Linked DNA regions of Homo sapiens: all the other regions are linked to region 2. Evidence: promoter capture Hi-C in 16 types of primary human blood cells and fetal thymus (Javierre and others, 2016). All regions are on one chromosome and are shown on one strand. Each heading gives the region's core, a stretch centred on a gene start or on the middle of the fragment in contact. The rest is flanking DNA. Distances are from core to core; before and after follow the strand shown.

Evidence for each region. Contacts are between HindIII fragments. The CHiCAGO score rates a contact against its expected background, and 5 or more counts as called.
Region 1: a fragment that was not itself captured here is called in contact with the fragment with the promoter of MYORG in region 2 in 3 of 17 cell types (endothelial precursors, M0 macrophages and M2 macrophages); the score reaches 7.6 in endothelial precursors.
Region 3: the fragment with the promoter of UBAP2 here is called in contact with the fragment with the promoter of MYORG in region 2 in 2 of 17 cell types (neutrophils and M0 macrophages); the score reaches 5.9 in neutrophils.

What each region holds. Positions count from the first base shown.
Region 1 is chr9:34,092,544-34,095,311 of GRCh38, forward strand. DCAF12 (DDB1 and CUL4 associated factor 12) reads right to left here. Exons shown (of 9, transcript NM_015397.4): 7 at 743-905. Among named protein-coding and RNA genes, the nearest start is that of DCAF12, 33 kb to the right of the region's middle. The HindIII fragment of the contact is 3,819 bases long and covers 1-2,768 here.
Region 2 is chr9:34,375,637-34,378,659 of GRCh38, forward strand. MYORG (myogenesis regulating glycosidase) reads right to left here and starts at 1,262. Exons shown (of 2, transcript NM_020702.5): 1 at 1,157-1,262. RefSeq lists enhancers at 29-610, 611-1,191 and a silencer at 1,237-1,626. The HindIII fragment of the contact is 6,785 bases long and covers 1-3,023 here.
Region 3 is chr9:34,047,561-34,050,465 of GRCh38, forward strand. It overlaps UBAP2 (ubiquitin associated protein 2), which reads right to left and starts at 1,327. Exons shown (of 29, transcript NM_001370062.2): 1 at 1,265-1,327. It also overlaps the pseudogene RN7SKP114. RefSeq lists enhancers at 437-1,293, 1,294-2,149, 1,430-1,959, 2,150-2,905 and silencers at 1,110-1,159, 1,310-1,399. The HindIII fragment of the contact is 37,851 bases long and covers 1-2,905 here.

The sequences.
Region 1 (2,768 bases), core at 228-2,727, 280 kb before region 2:
GGCGTGGTGGTGTGTGCCTGTAGTCCCACCTACTCGCGAGGCTGAGGCAGGAGAATCACTTGAACTCAGAAGGCAGAGGTTGCAGTGAGCTGAGATCACGCCACTACACTCCAGCCTGGCAAAAGAGCGAGACTCTGTCTCAAAAAAAAAAAACAACAACAACAAAAAAAAAGTAGAGCTTTCTAAAAGAACATGGAAACTACTAACTAATATCCTGACTGGTGGCTCCCAACAAAGGCTTCTGTGGCCACACATTTGTCTGTGGTGTTTGAAAGTCTAGTGCCCTTTTGTGTCACTCCCCCCACACCCCTTTTTTTTTGAGACAGAATTTCGCGCTCATTGCCCAGGCTGGAGTGCAATGGTGCGATCTCAGCTCACCGCAACCTCCGCCTCCCAGGTTCAAGCAATTCTCCTGCCTCAGCCTCCTGAGCAGCTGGGATTACAGGCATGCGCCACTGCGCCCGGCTAATTTTGTATTTTTAGTAGAGACGGGGTTTCTCCATATTTATTGGTCAGGCTGATCTCAAACTCCCGACCTCAGGTGATCCACCCGCCTCGGCCTCCCAAAGTGCTGGGATTACAGGCGTAAGCCACCACGCCTAGCCATCGCTCCCCTTTTTGAACACACTTCCAAATGTTCCATACAGAGCACTATACCTGTTTGGAAACCAACAAAGAAACTGAAAGTCAGAACCCATATGCAGTGCAGCTGTAGGCCTGAGGTGCACACAGGGACTCTTACCACTGCCTCGCTCCCTGGAACAGACAGACTTGACGTTGTATGATGGCTGCCGTGGATCCAAGAAGGAGACATGAGCTTGGGAGCCCACTGCATAAACTGACCATTCACTACCATAAGCCAGACACACATTCTCACGGCAATATGGCAGTTTGGTGGAGAGGAGCTGAAAATAGAGGAGAGATATAACCATGGCATCAGCAGAGAGGGTAAGGCAGGGATATTGTTTCTGGACTCCCACCTTGATGGGCTTCCCTCATATAAAAGCCACATAAAATCAAGCCCTGATTACAGAAATAACACTCTGTTCCACCCCTAGGTATACAGGAGAAAGAGGAGGTGAATGTTAATAAACGGTAAGACCTAGATACTGAAGGAGATAGGTTGGGGAAAAGGTAAATCTGGAATAAATAATCAGAAGTAGCTGGAAAGGCCAAGGCCTTTCTTGGTAGGCTGTTTCAACTATTCAGGTTGTTTCTGGGAATCGTTCCAGGGCACTAAAGCCATAGTCCCACTCTGTTCTGTCTGCCAGGAAGGGCCACCTCAGTGCTTTTCAGATAAAGAGGCTGATCTCTGGCTACCCCCAGCTCACCTTCCCACCTGAATGGGAATTGTACGCTATAGAAAGCACGCCCATGGGACTAGCTTAATCCCAGATAACCCACATCAGCCTTAACCCTGGGTCTTCGTCAGTTAGCAAATCCTCAGTGGGTGCATACAACACATAAGACAGCATACAAGGTCAGTGGAGCTCAAAGGCTATTGTGACATGAAGGAATCACTAATTCCTGGAACCCTGCTTCCTCTTGCAAAGTCCTCAAGGATAAGAAGAAGAGAAAAAGCTGGGCGTGGTGGCTAACGTCTGTAATCCCAGCACTTTGGGAGGCTAAGGCAGGCAGATCACCTGAGGTCAGGAGTTTGAGACCAGGCTGGCCAACCTGGTGAGATGCCATCTCTACTAAAAATACCAAAAATTAGCTAGGGGTAGTGGTGCATGCCTGTAATCCCAGCTACTCAGGAGGCTGAGGAAGGAGAATCACTTGAACCTGGGAGGCGGAGGTTGCAGTGAGCTGAGATCGTGCCACTGCATTCTAGCCTGGGCAACAAAGTGAGACTCTGTCTCAAAAAAAATAAAAAAAAGACAAATGATTCACAGGTAGGTTTAACTCTATGTAAAAGTTGCTTGTTGAATCTCCCTTATCCAAAAGGCTTGTGACTACAAATGTTTTGAATTTCGGATTTCTCCAGCTTTTTTTTTTTTTTTTTGAGACGGAGTCTCGCACTGTCGCCCAGGCTGGAGTACAGTGGCGCGATCTCAGCTCACTGCAAGCTCCACCTCCTGGGTTCACACCATTCTCCTGCCTCAGCTTCCCGGGTAGCTGGGACTACAAGCGCCCACCACCACGCCCGGCTAATTTTTTGTATTTTTAGTAGAGACGGGGTTTCACCATGTTAGCCAGGATGGTCTCAATCTCCTGACCTTGCGATCCGCCCACCTTGGCCTCCCAAAGTGCTGGGATTATAGGCGTGAGCCACCGCACCCGGCCCCGATTTTTAAATATCTACATATATGTAAGGAGCTATCTTGGGGATGGCACCCAAGTCTAACCACAAAATTCATTTATGTTTCATATACATCTTATACACATAGAGTGAAGGTAATTTTATGCAATATTTTAAATAATTTTCTGCATTAAACAATGTTTGGTACACTGACCTGTCAGAAAGCAAAGGTGTCCCATGTGAAATTTTCCATTTGTGGCATTGTGTTGGTGCTCAAAAAGTTTTGGACTTTGGAGGCTTTTTTTTTTGAGAGAGAGTCTTGCTCTGTTGCCAGGCTGGAGTGCAGTGGCATGATCTCGGCTCACTGCAACCTCTGCCTCCTGGGTTCAAGCGATTCTCCTGCCTCAGCCTCCCAAGTATCTGGGACTACAGACGCCCACCACCACGCCCAGCTAATTTTTGTATTTTTAGTAGAGACGGGGTTTCGCCATGTTGGCCAGCATGGTCTCAATCTCTTGACCTCATG
Region 2 (3,023 bases), core at 12-2,511:
AGGAGAGAGACTTCCTCATCCTCAAAACTTTCATATGAAGTCAGCCTATCTCATGAGCCCTGGAGGCAGGAAGAGGCCACCAAGGTGGATTCAAAAGCCCTTTCCGACAGTTATGTTTTGAGAATCTTAATTTTCTGGGATCTGAAGTTCTTTGATGAAAGACAGAAGCCCACAGGCCTGGGCACCCACCCACCCCAGGCACCATGATAGTGTCCCAAATGTCACCACAGCATCCAGTTCTATCAACAATGTGGAACAGCAGACATAGCTGCAGTGTCCATTTTACAGGTGAGGAAACGTGGCCCAAACAGAAAAAGGAACTTGTCTGAAGTTAGCCAGGTATCAAGGCTGCCTGGATCTAAAATCCCAGCCCAGCTCTCCACAGTGTAAGTTTTAGGAGATGGGAGATAATGATCTGACCTGGCTGCCTGAATGCAGTAGCAGAAAGGAGCCCTGGGGCTGAGCTGGTGGGACCAGCTTCCATCAGATGGACATGGCATGGTGAGGCCTGTCTTTCCAAGGGCTGGTGCTGCTGCTTGCTCCACGCGGACCACGAAGACCACGAGGGCAGCAAAGAGGGCAATTTTAATGGCATCTGGTACCGGGGCTTTGGGGGAGGAAGTCTGTGGTTCCGGTGTTAACAGTGGTGCCAGAGACCTCTGTAATCTGCCGCCTCCGCCAGGTGGAGTCTGGGCTCTGCCCCTGCTGAGCCTCTCCCCACCGGACACTCAACCTCAGCCTTGGCTGCCACAGCTAGTCTGGTCTGAGGGGGAGGGCCCCGCCCGACTCAACTGAGGGGAGGCCATTCCAAGTAGAATCGTTAGTTGGACACAGTTCCCGGGGGGATGGAAATGTCAAAGGCAACTCGATCCGGCCCATCTCCCTCTCCTGCCAGGCGACGGTATCCGCGGGGATCGAGTGACTGCCTACATAGCCTGGAATACTCCACAGCCGCCCTCCCTACCCCGCCCTGAAGGCTATACTGTCCGAAGGGGCCGACCGAGGTCAAGGGACCTGTCGCCCCGCGGGAATCGCGGCCGTGGGATGGGCCCAGGTGTTCAGGCTCGCTCCACCCATTCATCGGTGGGAGCGAAAGTTCAGGAATCGTGCTCCTTCAGCAGCCCCCCGCCCCCCACAGCCCTCCCGCTGGGCTCACCCATTGCAGTTACAGCCCGGCAGAAGCGGGGGTGAAAGAGCTTCCCGCCGATCCCCTGCGCTTGAACCAGAGTGAAGCTGCCGCCGCGCCGCGCGGGGCTCTGTCTGGCAGGGCACAGCCCCTCCTCGGGTCCCGCCCTGGGGTTCCTCGGCCACGCCCCAGTCATCCAGTCTCGTCTCGGGCCTCAGAGTCCAGCCCTGCCCTTGACGTTCGACCCCTCCTCCCAGGTTATCAGGCGGATCTGTGGCCCCGCCCCTCAGCCCCACCTTCCTCCCACCGCTCTGTGCTCTGCCCCTGGCATTTCAGGCTTGCTCAGTCCTGCGCCCCGCGGCTCCGACTCCCGCCGGCGGGCCCGCCCCTCCTGGGCCACTGCTAACCCGCAAGCGGGCGGGGCTCGGCCCCAGGCCTGCTGGGACATGTAGTTCTGCAGAAAGGAGCAGCTGCGGAAGGTTGGGGTTCTTGCACCTCTAGGCTAGGTTTGGAATGAGGATGAGAGGGAGAGAGCTGCAGGGTAAAGGAGCAGAGCTGGCCATTGGAATTCCTTCCTTCCCGGTTTGGACAGGTGGAGGCCATATCGGTATAACGCTCTCACAAGCCCTCAGCTTTCCATACGGAAAAGTGGTGGCGGAATTCCGCGAGTATCTCAGCTCCCAATGCAGGTGCTTCCAATCGAGGGCCCCACGGAGGGAGCTGTAGTTCCAACCCGCCGCGAGTCCAAGCTGTCGGTTCCCACCGGACCAAACCAGCGGTGTCCGAGGTCAGGGACTGAGAAGACCGGTTTCTGCTCGGTGTTTTGCAACGTCACCCGCCTCCCAGACCGCTACCCCCAGACTAGTTATTTATAGGGTCCAGCCCCTCCTCCTAAGTTACAGCCTTTAGTTAGAAATGCCCAAGCTGCGGGAAAGTGGGTGTGCCCCGCCATGCCCCTCTCCCCGGGGGCTGGGCAAGACTCTGAGGTTTCATTTCTTTTTTATTTTATTTTATTTTTATATTTATTTATTTTTGAGTTTCGTTCTTGTTGCCCAGGCTGGAGTACAATGGCACGATCTCAGCTCACTGCAAACTCCGCCTCCCGGGTTCAAGCAATTCTCCTGCCTCAGCCTCCCAAGTAGCTGGGATTACAGGCACGCACCACCGCGCCTGGCTAATTTTGTATTTTTAGTAGAGACAGAGTTTCACCATGTTGGTCAGGCTGGTCTCAAACTCCTGACCTCAGGTGATCTACCTGCCTCGGCCTCCCAAAGTGCTGGGATTACAAGTGTGGGCCACCGCGTCCGGTCTTTATTTTTTTGAGAGAGGGTCTCGCTCTGTCGCCCAGGCTGGAGTGCAGTGGCGTTAACATAGCTCACTGCAGCCTCAATGTCCTTGGTTCAAGCTATCCCCTCCCGCCTCAGGCTCCTGAGTAACTTGGACCACATGTGTGTGCCACCATACCCTGCTAATTTTTAAATTTTTTTGTAGAGAAGGGGTCTCTTTATGTTGCCCCAGCTGGTATCGAATTCCTGGGCTCAAGTGATCCTCCTGCCTCTGCCTCCCAAAGTGGTGAGATTACAGGTGTGAGCCTCTGCACCCAGCTGGTTTCATATCTATTTGATGCAGAAATAAAAATACTGAAGATCACAGAGATTTTAGAATGGCCCCTTCTCGCTCCCTGAGGGGCAGAGAAACAGGGCTTTGTTTTGCAACTTGAAATTTCTTTGTCATGAGACCCTCCAAAATTATGTTTTGACCAGTTGGACTTGGAATGGGGGACACACCTTGTGCAGCAAGGGTGTCTGAGCACAGAGAGGCTTTTGGGAGGCTGTGATGGGGACTCCTGGAAGCAGAGATCAAGAGCTTTGGGTGTAGGGATAGGTCTTTGACTGTG
Region 3 (2,905 bases), core at 77-2,576, 330 kb before region 2:
TCGCATACCCCTTGTTGAAAAAAGTGCTGTCACAACGGAAGAGGAATATAAGAACTGGGTTCACCCAAGAAATTATATGCCCTTCAAATAAAAGATAATCTTTGGATACCTTATGGAGACCTGAAAAAACCCTCAACTAGCTGAGCACCGTGGTGCACACTGTAATCCCAGATACTCAGGAGGCTGAGGTGAAAGAATCGCTTAAACCCAGGAGCTGGAGGCCAGCCTGGGCAACATATGGAGACCATATCTCTAAAATTAATAGTAATTTTTTAAAATCTCTCAACTGTTAGGATACACTGGTGCTGTAGAAAGACAATAAGCCTAAATACTGGCAAACCATATACCTTCCTTGAATGTGAGGTAAAAACAATATCCAATAGAAGTGGTAGTAAATGACTGGATTACATCAAACAGGAAATAACAGTAATAATGATGGGATCAACCCCTAAAGCGAGCAAGCATTAGAGACCAGAGTGGTGACAGTTGAGATGCGTGGGCAACTAATTAGACTAAAAACTCAGGGGAAAATGTGGAAAAGCCGAGTGGGAAAGTGATTCAGAGGCAAACAACTGAGTTGTAATGCACCAATGAAAGAATAACATTTTGAGTATGTATTATTAACAGAGAGAGCTTTGCCGTTTACAAAGCGCTCAAAAACCTACATTAAATAATGAACTGTGATATAACCAGACTACAGGAACGGCGGGTGTGGAGGAAAACTGAGTCCCAATTGAGACCAATGCCCTACAGAATTGAAAAGAAGTAGAACTGAACTGTGACTCCGGGTAAGCCAGGAAAGGTTAGAGAGCGCATAAGTTGGGGCTATAACAGGGCCAGTCCCAAGACTAGCTACGGGCGTGAAAGCGGAAAGGTGATGAGATGGGACCGACAGCGTGGCGGGGAAGCTCCAGTCTACTGGCAGGCACCGAGGTGGGAGAGAAAACCACACCCTCCAGGGCAGAAACCCGAAAGGGGGGAGGGGAGGCACCCCTGGGGCTGGGTGGGGCCCAGCCGACCTGGACGGGGGAAAGTAGGAAGAAGCACAGGGCAACGTGAGGGGAAGAGGAAGGAGGGAGCCCGGGCCTGGACGTAGAGGGACCGTGGACCTGGCGAGTGAAGCTCGGCCCGGTCCTCACGGGTGGGCGCCGGGGCAGTCTGCAGGCGGTGGGGTTTCAGACGAGCTGAACCCAGAATTAGAAAGCACACGCTGCAGCGCTCAGGGCCCTGGAAGAGGGAAGGAGAGGGAGAGGATGGCAATTACCGCTGCTGCTCTCGGAGGACCCAAGACCCGCTGCCGCCGCCGCCGCTCGTTACCTGCCAATGTGCCTCTTACAAAGCGGCGGCGGCGGCACAGGCTGCCCAACCCGTCACGTGACCTCGCGTCACGGGCGAAGGAGGAGCCACAACACGTCGCTCGTGCGCGGCTTCAGAGTCAGCCTAGGCGGCGCGCGGCCTCTTCCAGCCACCACCTCCACCCCAACCCCGCGAAGCCAACCGCGTGGAGGTGGGGACCACAGAAAGGAACAAATAAGGGAGACTTGATAATATGTATTGTACTCGGAGTCATCAGGAGAGTATTACCCACCGCATACAAGGTGCCCACAACTGCAGCTCGTCGTCGCGCCGTGATGACCTCACAAAGCACCACAGGTTACTCCCCTGTGGCCGCCCTGTGCTCATCACGTGATGTGGTCCAACCACTCAGGGCAAGCCTGGCCTCCCAAATGTTGCACGAGGGGACCACGACTCCCAACATGCTGCACAGCCAAGGCGACCCCTACCGCAGCCTTTCTCCAGCGGGCTTCTAGACGAACCCCCTAGAGACCTTAGAGCCGAGGGAAGGCCGGGACGGAAAGCGGACTAAGCTGGCTTGAAGGACTAATACCATTGGATGCCGCCCGCCATGTGGCGGAGCGTGGTGCCTGCTGGGAGGTGTAGTCCTGGCGGGGGGTGGGGTTCCGCTCCCACGTTCCTGGGCTCGCTCTGCGCCCTGCCCCCTGCGCGGGAAAACGCCAACGGCTAGCAGCGAGAGCCTCGGCAAGGCGGAAGGTGCGCCCACTTTTAGTCTTTTTCAGTGCGGTTTTACTTTTGCCCTCCCAAGCCCCTTCTGGGTGAAAAGACTAGAATCTACTGAACGCCTACTCCAAGTCAGCCGTTTATTTCTGTTATATCATATAATCAACTCCTTGAGTCCAGGATTTTCCCTATTTAAGGATTTAAAAAAAGAACCTTAGAGTTGTTTGTTGACCGAAGAGACCCAGGTTTTCTGTCTTTAGAAAATTAATGACCTCCTCTCAATAGGATCTGACCTGTTGTCAACTCCAAGAATTACGAATAAATAAGATGATGGTTTATAATTGTAGCATGGTGTTTTAAAGTATTTTCCATTTACTGGCCTGTTTGGATGTGAGGGCGTTCTGGCTATCTTGTCACCCCATAGATCGCCAGGGCTGATTCGGCTGATCTGGCTGTCTAGGCGGGTGGCCCCTTCCTCCCGCACCTCTCCATGTGCGTCCCTCCCGAAGCTGCATATTCGGTCGAAAAGGAGGAGCATCCCCCATAGAAGAGGACAAGTCAAGGATATAGGAGTAGCTGCACGCCCGTGTTAACAAGCTCTCAAGGTCCTCTAAACAAGCTCTCAAGGTCTACTTACTGGCCTGTTTTATCCCAAGCTAGTTACATACAAGGACTTTGCAGTCCCGGCATGCCTTATCTCAATTGGAGCTTTCCTCTGTAATAACACTTCACCGGCTTGTGAAAATTAAATGAGATTATGTAAAATGCCTGCTTGACACATAATAAACCCTCAGTAAGTATCAGTAATCATTTTCACACTCTACCCATCGGGCCCAAAAGGTCTAAGTAAGGTAGAAAGGGGAAATTAGCTTATACTGAACTTTGT